Linked DNA regions of Homo sapiens: regions 1, 2 and 3 are each linked to region 4. Evidence: promoter capture Hi-C in human tissues and cell types (Jung and others, 2019). All regions are on one chromosome and are shown on one strand. Each heading gives the region's core, a stretch centred on a gene start or on the middle of the fragment in contact. The rest is flanking DNA. Distances are from core to core; before and after follow the strand shown.

Region 1 (2,753 bases), core at 61-2,560, 61 kb before region 4:
GTTTTGGGGAAAGTTTTATAACCATTATAGAAGTCTAGGTACATTGAGACTATACCAACAGATCTTCACATGGATGCAGATAAAAGAGAATATTGATACACTGCTGGTGGGAATGTAAATTAGTACAACCTCTGTGGAAAAAAGTATGGGTATTTCTCACAGAACTAAAAGCAGAACAACCATTCAACTCTGCAATTCCACCACTAGGTATCCACCCAAAGGAAAAGAAATGATTATATCAAAAACATACCTGCACCTGTATGTTTGTCACTGCACTATTCACAATAGCAAAGTCATAGAACCAAGTAAGTGCTCATCAATGGTTGATTGGGTAAATAAAATGTGATATATATATCTATACCATGGAATACTACATAGCCAGGAAAAAGAATAAAATTATATCTTTTGCAGCAACATGGATGGAGCTGGAGTCCATTATTTTAAGTGAAATAACTCAGAAGTATCAAATACCACATGTTCTCACTTATAAGAGGGAGCTAACAATAAGTACAAATGAACAGATAGGTAAATAATAGACACTAGGGACTCAAAAAGGGAAGGGTGGGAGGGGGGTGAGGTTTGAGATTTTACTTTTTGGGTACAATGTTAACTATTAAAATGACAAGCACATTAGAAACTCAAACATCACAATTATATAGCCAGGTAACAAGCCTGAACATATACCTTCTGAATCTATTTAAAAAAAAACTTTTTGAAAGAAAGGAAAAAAAATTATACCATCAACACGAGTCAATAGACCTGTGTCTTTCTCATTCTTCCTGCTTTGCATGGGTGTCCTTAGACATTGCCATCTTGGGACTGTGAGGCAAGAGACAGCTAGAAAATGGACCCAAAACTGAATACATGGAACTGAAAAAACAAGAGAAAGAAACCAGGTCCTAATCATGTTGTTTGACCTTTAGGTCAAGCCTCTTTTGAGACCAGATTTACCTGTTCTCTTTAGCAATATGAGCTAATAAATGTCTATATTTGCTTAAACCACCAAGCCAGGTTCAGTGTACTTTGTAACTGAAAGAATCTAATATAATCCATGTCCCATAGTCAGCTTTTTTGCAGATGTCCCTTTAGCAAACTGAGCATCAGTCTCAGTACATTGACCCCTTGCTTCTTCAGTGAAAATGCCTGCATTTGCCTTGCTAGTATCCCATTGAGTACTCTCAACCACCTGAGGACTCTGTTCTCTCCTGTTATCACTTACATACATGGTAGTTATGTTCATTTTATAGTTAGGTGTCTAAGAAGGGAGTGTATTTCTTACTGTCTGACTCTGTTGTAGACTACAAAGAATAATCAGTCTAGCAAGATGAAAGTAGAACAATAAGCAGGACTATAGTATAAGCATTACTATAAATGTAATGAATTATTACTAACTTGCCTGCCCACTTAACTATTCCTGTTGTCTTACCTTTCTTTCTTCAGCAAAGTCCTAAAAGGTAATAGGTGTTAGAAAAACTAGAAGGTCAGAAGGGAAAGATTATGCTAGGAAGAGGTCTGAAATGGAAACACACATATAAGATTGATCACAGCCATGTAAAATAATAATAACAGGAAGATCTATGCATTCCTCATTTTTTAAAACTTCAGATTCCCAAAGACTGTAAAAGCAAAACTGTTTTTCTTATTTCCCAGAACATCTGGTTCAAACAACTTTGTTGCTTACTGAACAGATATTTGTCATAAATCACCATGAACAATATAAAGATGAATGAGAGTGATTCTTTCCCAAAAGGAAAATAAAAGGTACCAGGGAAGAAAGCTCTGTCTCTCCAGAAAGTTTGATGTAGAAAAGGGGAGTCTGTATCAGGGCTTTGGCTGAACACAAGATACTGTCATATTCCAACAGCAGATCCTGGTCAGGCTGCTTGCCACAATATGATGCACAAATATGTGAGCACTTTAAATCCAGAGAGCAAAATCTAAACCAGCATATGAATTGAGGAAAGATGGCGAGCAAGACAGTTTCTAGAAAGCTAAGCCAGGCACACGACATAGGCTGAATCAGCACCGTGCAATCAAACCGGTAATGAATAGAGGCAAGGCTAGTTGTTTTCAGTCCTGACCACTGATTAGAACAGTGGTTCTCAAATCTGAGCATGCATCTGAATCACATAGAGGGCTGGTTAGAAGGCAGACTGCTTGGCCAGACCTTCTGAGTTTCCAGTTCAGGAGGTCTAGGGTGAAGCCTGTGAATTTTCGTCTCTTAAAATGTCCCCTATGCTGTTTTCACTGGCTGAGGACCTAATGCAGTGCTTTAAGAGCACTGCTTTAGAATAACCTAAAGAATTTTCAAAAATCACAAAGCTGAAGCAGAACGCCACACCAATTTCATCAGAATCTCTTAAAAGGGAGAAAAGACATCAGTATTTTTAAAATGTTCTATATGATTCCAGTGTTCAGATAAGGTTAAGAACAACTGGTCTACATTTAAAACAAAAATAATTATTTGTGTTTTCTAAACATGTAGATAGATCTAAAAAATATAAGCACAAATCTATCCTTCCATTTTGGTTTTAAAATTGTACTTTAATAATTTGTCATAAAACACCTGATATTTATGTGTGAGCATGTGTATCCATATTCATGTGTGCTTGTGTATGTGGTGTGTTTGTGTGTGTGGATGCACATAAATGTATTTCAATCAAGAGAGTATGTCAATTAGCATAAAGAATATGAGAAATATAACTCTCATTGGTTAAATGAATGACATTGTGGATATGTGGATTTGCTATAAA
Region 2 (2,779 bases), core at 156-2,655, 54 kb after region 4:
AATAGCAAAGAATTGGAACCAACCCAAATGTCCGACAATGATAGACTGGATTAAGAAAATGTGGAACATATACACCATGGAATACTATGCAGCCATAAAAAATGATGAGTACATGTCCTTTGTAGGGACATGGATGAAATTGGAAATCATCATTCTCAGTAAACTATCGCAAGAACAAAAAACCAAACACCGCATGTTCTCACTCATAGGTGGGAATTGAACAATGAGAACACATGGACACAGGAAGGGGAACATCACACTCTGGGGACTGTTGTGGGGTCGGGGAAGCGGGGAGGGATAGCATTAGGAGATATACTTAATGGTAAATGACGAGTTAATGGGTGCAGCACACCAGAATGGCACATGTATACATATGTAACTAACCTGCACATTGTGCACATGTACCCTGAAACTTAAAGTATAATAATAATAAAATAAAATAATAAAAAAAAAGAAAAGCAAGAAACCCAGTGGCTTCACTGCTGAATTCTACCAAACATTTTAAGAAGAACTTATACCAATGCTACTCACACTGTTCCAAAAAATGAGGAGGAGTGAGTACTTTCAAACTCATTCTGTGAGGCCAGTATTACCCTGATATCAAAACCAGACAATGACATATCAAAAAAAGAAAACCACAGGCCAATATCACTGATAAGTATTGATGCAAAAATCCTTGACAAAATACTAGCAAACCGAATTCAAGAAAACACTTAAAAGACCATTCATCATGATCAAGTGGAATTTATTGCAGGGATTCAAGGATGGTTCAACATGTGCAAATCAATTAATGCAATACATCATATCAATAGAATAAAAGACAAAATCCATATGATCATTTTAGTTGATGCTGAAAAAGCATTTGATAAAATTCAACATCCCTTTATGATGAAAACCCTCAAAACACTGGGTGTAGAAGAAACATACCTCAACATAATAAAAGGCATATACACAGTCTCATAGCTAGTATCATATTAAATGGGAAAAACTGAAATCCTTTCCTCTAATATTGGGAACATGACAAGGATGCCCACTTTCACCACTGTTATTTAACATAGTAGTGGAATTCCTAGCTAGAGCAATAAGACAAGAGAAATAAATAAAGGGCATCCAGTTTGAAAAAGGAGAAGTCAAATTATCCCTGTTTTCAGATGATATGATCTTATACTTGGAAAAAGCTAAACATTCCATAAAAAAACTATTGGAACTGATCAAATTCAGTAAAGTTGGAGGATGCAAAATCAACATATGAAGCCACCTGCATCCCTTGGTTCATGGCCTCTCTTCACTCCAAAGCTTCTGCTTCCTTAATCACAGTTTCTTCTCTGACTCTGAACCTCCTGCCTTCCTCTTAGAAGGACCCTTGTGATTGTGTTGGGCTCACCAGAATAATCCAGGATAATCTCTTCATCTTAAGATCTTCAACTAAGTCACATCTTTAAAGACCCTTTTGCCATGTAAGGTAACAGATCCACAGGTTTGGGGGATTAGGAAACATACTGAGTGTCCCCAAATTTTCCCATCCCATTTAATATATGAGAGATACTGGGGTATGCCAGTTAGAATACTTTAGTAGAGAGGATAATATAATGATGCCAGCATAAGAAAATATGATCACAAAATCTTTAAGAAATGAGAGGAAAGAGGATTCAGAGATACTTCTTCCATTCCAGTGATACTTCATTTTAGGTGCTTGATAAATGTTTACAGATACCATAAATTCATGATACTTTGAAACTCAAGCATTTGCTTAGAAGATATCAAAAAGCAGAACTTGATATGCTACATTCACAGCATTCATTGCAATATTAGACAAAATAAAAGTTATCTAATAATTTAAAAATTAAAAATAGCACTTCAAAATCTTATTTAAGGAAGAAATAAGATATCAGAATATTTGAACAGTAAAAATATAAGTAAAACATATGAAAATTCATAAGGTATTGCCAAAGTAATATCTAAAAACAAATGTACTTTTCTGAATATATGTACTAACTGACACCACCCTAAGATTTGGGAAAGAAACAATTAGGCCAAATAAAGTTGGAAAAAAGAAATGATACAACAAAGAGCAAAAACAAGCTTGCTTGGGAAAGGGGAGACAAAAATAAGTAAAAATTGATCACCAGAAACACTAATTAACTGGTAGGAAAAGGTCAAAGCAGATGGCCTTCAATTCATTCACTCTCTTCATGGGGTGGGGGTACTATGTTCTCATAAGCCACTCCCTGGCAGAAGGCAGGTGACCTCCTCCTTGTCAACTGTACCACTGGGTAAATATACTACAGAAATTTATTAGGAAGAGGATAGCTTATTTCTGAATTGCCTTTAACAGGAAGTCTCTGGCTACAGATTACCTATAGTAAATAGAATCCAGGATCTATGGGGCATGATCCCTTGGAGAATGCCTCGTGGGCTATTCAATTCCCTTGGACTATCTCCCACTGTGGGAGATACTCCCATAACCTCAAATGCAAACCAGCCTATCCTGAGCCAGAGGAACATAGCCAACATGGAAAATACTTCTCACTGCATCTGAACCGACTGAGTGCCTGTTCCTTAACTTCATTTGGGTAATATAAGGTAAGATCTCTGATTCATGTGGGGCTGACTTTCCAATCCAATCCTGTGCATTGGTATTCTCACTATACCATTGATTCAAACTGAAGAACCAAGTAGCATTGATAACTTGTTACTATATATATATAGATAGATAGATAGATAGATAACTTGTTACTATACATATATAAATATATATAACTATATGTACTATATTTTT
Region 3 (2,700 bases), core at 36-2,535, 36 kb before region 4:
AGTTGCTCTGCCAAGAGATAGGCATTCCACTGGATTTGAAGCTGAAATGATATAAAGCTGACTCCTTGCAATAGCCATGCACCAACACAGAGAAAGTGGGAGCAAAGCTGGAGAAAGAATTGAAGTTCTGCTGACTTTATGTGAGACACTATATCAAGTCATTTTTTAAACTAAAATCCCTTTCACTGAACTTTTCATCTATGTAGGCCAATTAATTAATTATCATTTTATTTAAACCAGCTGGATTGGTTTTGTGTCACATGCAACCTAATATACTTTCTTTCATCATGCTAATGTATATACATATAACATTATGTATTATTAATATTGAATCTTGTCTTTGTCTTTACTTGGGACCAGGGAAATTACGTTGTGTATCTCTGCATCTTTTGCACTTCGCACAAAGCCTGTTTCATAAGAATGCATAATATTTATCAATTATAGAGATTTTTTTTTTTTTTTTGAAACAGGATCTCTCATTCTGTTGCCCAGGTTGGAGTGCAATGGCTCGATCTCGGCTCACTGCAACATCCGCGTCCCAGGTTCAAGCAATTCTCCTGCTTCAGCGTCACAAGTAGTTGGAACTACAGGCATGCGTCACCATGCCCGGCTAATTTTTGTATTTTTAGTAGAGACGGGGTTTCACCATGTTGACCAGGCTGATCTCAAACTCCTGACTTCATGTGATCCGCCCACCTCAGCCTCCCAAAGTGCTGGGATTACAGGCATGAGCCACCGTGCTCAGCCTAGAGAAAAAAATGTTTAAGCAGCTAACATAAGAAAAGAGGCAATTTAAAAAATTCATCTTCCACCATCGATGTTTTCAAAGTAAATTGTAAATGATAGACTAGAGTTTTTATAAGAAGGAAAATGATTTTTCTCCAGAATTTTAAAAAAATCTCCAAGAATAAAATTAGAAAACTTTCCAATCACTTGTAAGATTTTCACAAAACACCACCTCACCTTCTTTTTCTTGAAAAGCATTACTCCAGGTAACTTTTTTACCCCTGTTTCCTTGTCTTGATTGTCTCCTAAAACAGATTCCAATACTTCTGATTCTTTGAATTTATCCTCCTCCTCCTCCTCCTCCTCCTCCTCCTCCTCCTCCTCCTCCTCTCCATCTGCCACTTCTTCTTCCCATTCCTCCACCTTACCACGCTTATCAGAACCTTTTCTTTCATGGGTTTCCTTTAAGGTTCCTATTTTCTTATTTTTAACTAATATTTTGAATTTTAGTGCCTAAGGAAACAATTTGAGAGATACAATTACACATTTACAAGTAAATTTGCATTGTAACAGTCACTGAAAAGTGTTTCACTATATTTCCAATTAGCCTACAGTAATAAGATATGTAAGAACTCCATTTTTTCCCATACCCCTATTCACATCTCAGTAGAGGAATGAATACAGTGATATAATGCTATTGATTGTAATTCACCAAAAAATAAGCCTGTTATGATTGAGACTTACCATATGCCATTTTTTTTATATTTCCCAAGTTGGTACTATTCCAACAATTTGAAATATGTGAAAAGTATATATATATAAATACTTACCATGATATTGCAATGAAAATGTTACAACTTCTGGTAGTAAACGCTTCAGCTCATCATTTTCTTATCCAACATTAAAAAGTATTAAATGAAATCAGGTATATTAAAATGTCTATCATAAGTGTCTGGCATCTAGTATAGACTAAATTAAAGATTCGTAATAAAGGCTCTTCAAATTTCTTCTGTATTACACATAAACATCATTAACTTAATATTTTCTGTCCTTCAAACTTAGAAGCATAGCAAAATTTACCATCAGTGTCACTTGTTCTAAATTTGAAGGCTTCTGGTTCCATTCTTTCACTTGGTTATTCCTGCCCTTAGGATAATTTCTTTAATTTAACAAGTACATTTAAGTACCGGCTCTGTTATATACAATGCTGAAATCTGGGTTATAAAGTAAAGTTCTTTTCTCCAGGGAGCTTTGATTGTCCTTTCTCTTTTGTCATCCTCAGGCATCCATTCAAATTATTCCATCATCTTGGGTCTTCCCTCTTTCACAATGACCCTTATGATACTCTCCACTGCAGAGTTTACCAAATGCACTCTGCAATCCCATGTATCAAGAATATTATCAGAAGTGCTTGGGAAAGGGACAAATTCCTAGGATCTACTTCAAAATAAGGGAATCAGAATCTTGAATTGTGGGGCTGGAATTGGGCCTCCTTTAACAAGTCTCTAGGCAATTCTTTTACACACAAGGACTGAATATTGTAGGATAAAGTAACTTTTTTTTTTTTTTTTTTTTGAGACGGAGTCTCACTCTGTCACCCAGGATGGAGTGCAGTGACATGATCTCAGCTCACTGCAACCTCCGCCTCCTGGGTTCAAGAGATTCTCCTGCCTCAGCCTCCCAAGTAGCTGGGATTACAGGGTAACTTTAATTCTTTATTTACTCATTGAAAAGCACCTCCCTGCTTTAATATGGAGCTAAAATTTGAATGAAAGCTATGTACGGGAATGCTAGAAAAATAGATTCATATATAATAGGAAGCGGGATTCTCTTCCAAGAAAGCTGAAAATTATAAGTTCCAGAATTGGACTATGATTTGGGTTTAATCTTTGATGATATGTTTCGAAATTCTTTACTATTTCTTTCCACCACAATTGAACACATTGAGTCTGTGGGCATTCTTATGCCACAAAA
Region 4 (2,738 bases), core at 189-2,688:
ATCGCCTCTCACCTGACCTCTCTGTTTTAGTTCTCTCTTCCAGAAAGGTGAGCAAATTAACCCTGAATCTTAAGGAAAGTGGAAGCATTAGATGAATTCCTAATATGCCACCGAACACAGTTTCTGCTACTTAGTGTTCAATAAATAGTAACCATGACTGATAAAGTTATTATTACTACATTAGTCCAATGCCCAGCTACACACACACTCAAGACAGTACCATCAAAAAGCATCAGAAATACCATGGTGAGTGTATATTTGGTATGAAAAACGAAAAAAATTTTTAAAAGCTTACTTATCATAGATAAACTACAAAAACTAGGACACTTCCATTTGAAAAACTAAGATCGAAATGAGATAATGACAATTATCACTAAAATTATAAAAGGTATAGGTAAAAATTGTGCAAAACTACTAAGTTTCAGATTGTTAGAACGAATTAATGAGATCTCCTTAAATTTAATAGTTATGACTTAATCCAGCAAAGCTCATGTTCTTGTAAGAAAAAGATACCAGAATGCAGGGAAAGTTAGAAAAGCTCAGAACAAACAGGGAAAAGCAGTTCAACTTAAATGAAGAGGACTTAAATTCAGAACTCCTCGAAAAGAATAACAGCATCAAGTAAAGAGGATAAGTAGGAGAAAGAAGAAGAGGAGCAGAAAGAAGCTCTCAATGGATATCTCATTTCCATAGTTTCATGACCTGTAGAGCCGTTTCTCCTCACTTAGAAGTCTTTCCCCAGTAGGTGCTGTCATGGGTTCCAAATACAATTAACTCTGCCCCTTTGCAGAAAATAATTTCTTGATACTCATCAGCTGTTACCACTTTTCTAGGGAGAAAGCAGAGAACACACAGTGGTTTTTTTTGCCTTCGTTCTTTGAAGCTAGCTCACACTTAACCATAGAAACAGTATGCAAGATGTGGTACCTGCACTACCCTGCCCTTGAAACTGTTTGGCTTCTTACGTTCTGACCACCTCCAAACCCACAATATTTGAAAACACAGCTTTCCCTGATGTCTGGCATTTTTCCATGAACTGCCATTGTATCTCCTTTTATTTTTTACTACTTTGTTTAAACCCCTCAAACCTTTCATCATAATATGCTTCCAGTGGGTTTGGGCAGCTACTCTGAGAGCCTGAGTATAAATCAACACCATTGTGATTCCTGAAGTTGCAAAGTGCTGTCACTCTTGAAACTTTGGGCTGCTTCTCTAGATCGTTGACAACATATAATGCACACAGAGACACACCACTTTCGAAGAAGACTGTTCAGGAGGCTAAGTTCTTAAAATCTTCAAAAGAGGTATAGCTGGTTGGCTGGGCACCACACTGTCAGGTGACTGTCATTTTTTCCTTTTGGTCTGAATTCCCATTGTGATATCATCAGAGGTTCCACACTTCACAAGGAAAGCTTCTTATGACCTCATCAGGAGGCTCAGACCTTGCCAGACTGCCTGCTTTCATGGATAGACATAAAAACCTTCAGCTTGAATGTTAACACCTTGATGGGAAAGGTGGCTCATGGAATGTTTTCTTATCCTTTGAACACTCCTCATTTCAGAAGCTTTGCTTCTGTTGCAACCAAACATGACACTTAGCGTGCTGAGCAGGAAGGACAAGGAAAGAGTAATTCGCAGACTGTTATTACAGGCCCCTCCAGGGGAATTTGTAAATGCCTTTGATGATCTCTGTCTGCTTATCCGTGATGAAAAACTTATGCACCACCAAGGTGAGTGTGCAGGCCACCAACACTGCCAAAAATATTCTGTACCACTCTGCATCGATGGAAATCCAGTACTCTTGTCTCACCACAATGTAATGGGCGACTACCGATTTTTTGACCATCAAAGCAAACTTTCTTTCAAATATGACCTGCTTCAAAATCAGCTGAAAGACATCCAAAGTCATGGTATCATTCAGAATGAGGCAGAATACCTGAGAGTTGTTCTTCTGTGCGCCTTAAAACTGTATGTGAATGACCACTATCCAAAAGGAAATTGCAACATGCTGAGAAAAACTGTCAAAAGTAAGGAGTACTTGATAGCTTGCATTGAAGATCACAACTATGAAACAGGAGAGTGCTGGAACGGACTTTGGAAATCTAAATGGATTTTCCAAGTTAACCCATTTCTAACCCAAGTAACGGGAAGAATATTTGTGCAAGCTCACTTCTTCAGGTGTGTCAACCTTCATATTGAAATATCCAAGGACCTGAAAGAAAGCTTGGAAATAGTTAACCAAGCTCAACTGGCTCTAAGTTTTGCAAGGCTTGTGGAAGAGCAAGAGAACAAATTTCAAGCTGCAGTCTTGGAAGAATTACAGGAGTTATCCAATGAAGCCCTGAGAAAAATTCTACGAAGGGATCTTCCAGTGACCCGCACTCTTATTGACTGGCACAGGATACTCTCTGACTTGAATCTGGTGATGTATCCTAAATTAGGATATGTCATTTATTCAAGAAGTGTGTTGTGCAACTGGATAATATAAAGAATTGCTCCTGGTAACTATCTTGATTTGACTTGTTTGTGTTTCTTGGGAATGGTTATTTTCCTAAAATTGAGCAATCTGTAGAGATGTCTCTCACTTAGCCAATGCAAATTTAAATGGGAAAAGTGTAGCAAGTAATTTTACTTGGGGAATATTTATGAACAAGGCAAGAAAGTGTAAAGTAACTGTGTTTCATGGTGGTGACCATCATAAAGACCAAGACATTTGTTAGAAACTAAAATAGTTTTAT

What was found. The method cuts DNA at HindIII sites, captures the fragments that hold promoters and counts their contacts. A contact is called where the count stands out against the background at its distance.
Region 1: a contact is called between a fragment that was not itself captured here and the fragment with the promoter of CAPZA3 in region 4, in 1 of the 25 tissues and cell types used here (thymus).
Region 2: a fragment that was not itself captured here is called in contact with the fragment with the promoter of CAPZA3 in region 4 in 4 of the 25 tissues and cell types used here (dorsolateral prefrontal cortex, mesenchymal stem cells, small bowel and 1 more).
Region 3: a contact is called between a fragment that was not itself captured here and the fragment with the promoter of CAPZA3 in region 4, in 2 of the 25 tissues and cell types used here (dorsolateral prefrontal cortex and thymus).

The regions. Positions count from the first base shown.
Region 1 is chr12:18,675,312-18,678,064 of GRCh38, forward strand. It overlaps a transcript of PIK3C2G not described here and a transcript of PLCZ1 not described here. Among named protein-coding and RNA genes, the nearest start is that of PLCZ1, 61 kb to the right of the region's middle. The HindIII fragment of the contact is 4,006 bases long and covers 1-2,753 here.
Region 2 is chr12:18,790,937-18,793,715 of GRCh38, forward strand. The region is part of intron 2 of LOC102724227 (a long non-coding RNA gene); the gene reads left to right. Among named protein-coding and RNA genes, the nearest start is that of CAPZA3, 54 kb to the left of the region's middle. The HindIII fragment of the contact is 3,452 bases long and covers 1-2,779 here.
Region 3 is chr12:18,700,538-18,703,237 of GRCh38, forward strand. It overlaps PLCZ1 (phospholipase C zeta 1), which reads right to left. Exons shown (of 15, transcript NM_033123.4): 8 at 1,155-1,239; 9 at 964-1,031. It also overlaps a transcript of PIK3C2G not described here. Among named protein-coding and RNA genes, the nearest start is that of PLCZ1, 36 kb to the right of the region's middle. The HindIII fragment of the contact is 5,239 bases long and covers 1-2,700 here.
Region 4 is chr12:18,736,681-18,739,418 of GRCh38, forward strand. CAPZA3 (capping actin protein of muscle Z-line subunit alpha 3) reads left to right here and starts at 1,439. Exons shown (of 1, transcript NM_033328.3): 1 at 1,439-2,508. The coding sequence starts at 1,589. The coding sequence ends at 2,488. It overlaps PLCZ1 (phospholipase C zeta 1), which reads right to left and starts at 1,332. Exons shown (of 15, transcript NM_033123.4): 1 at 1,252-1,332; 2 at 681-829. The coding sequence starts at 691. The HindIII fragment of the contact is 1,043 bases long and covers 852-1,894 here.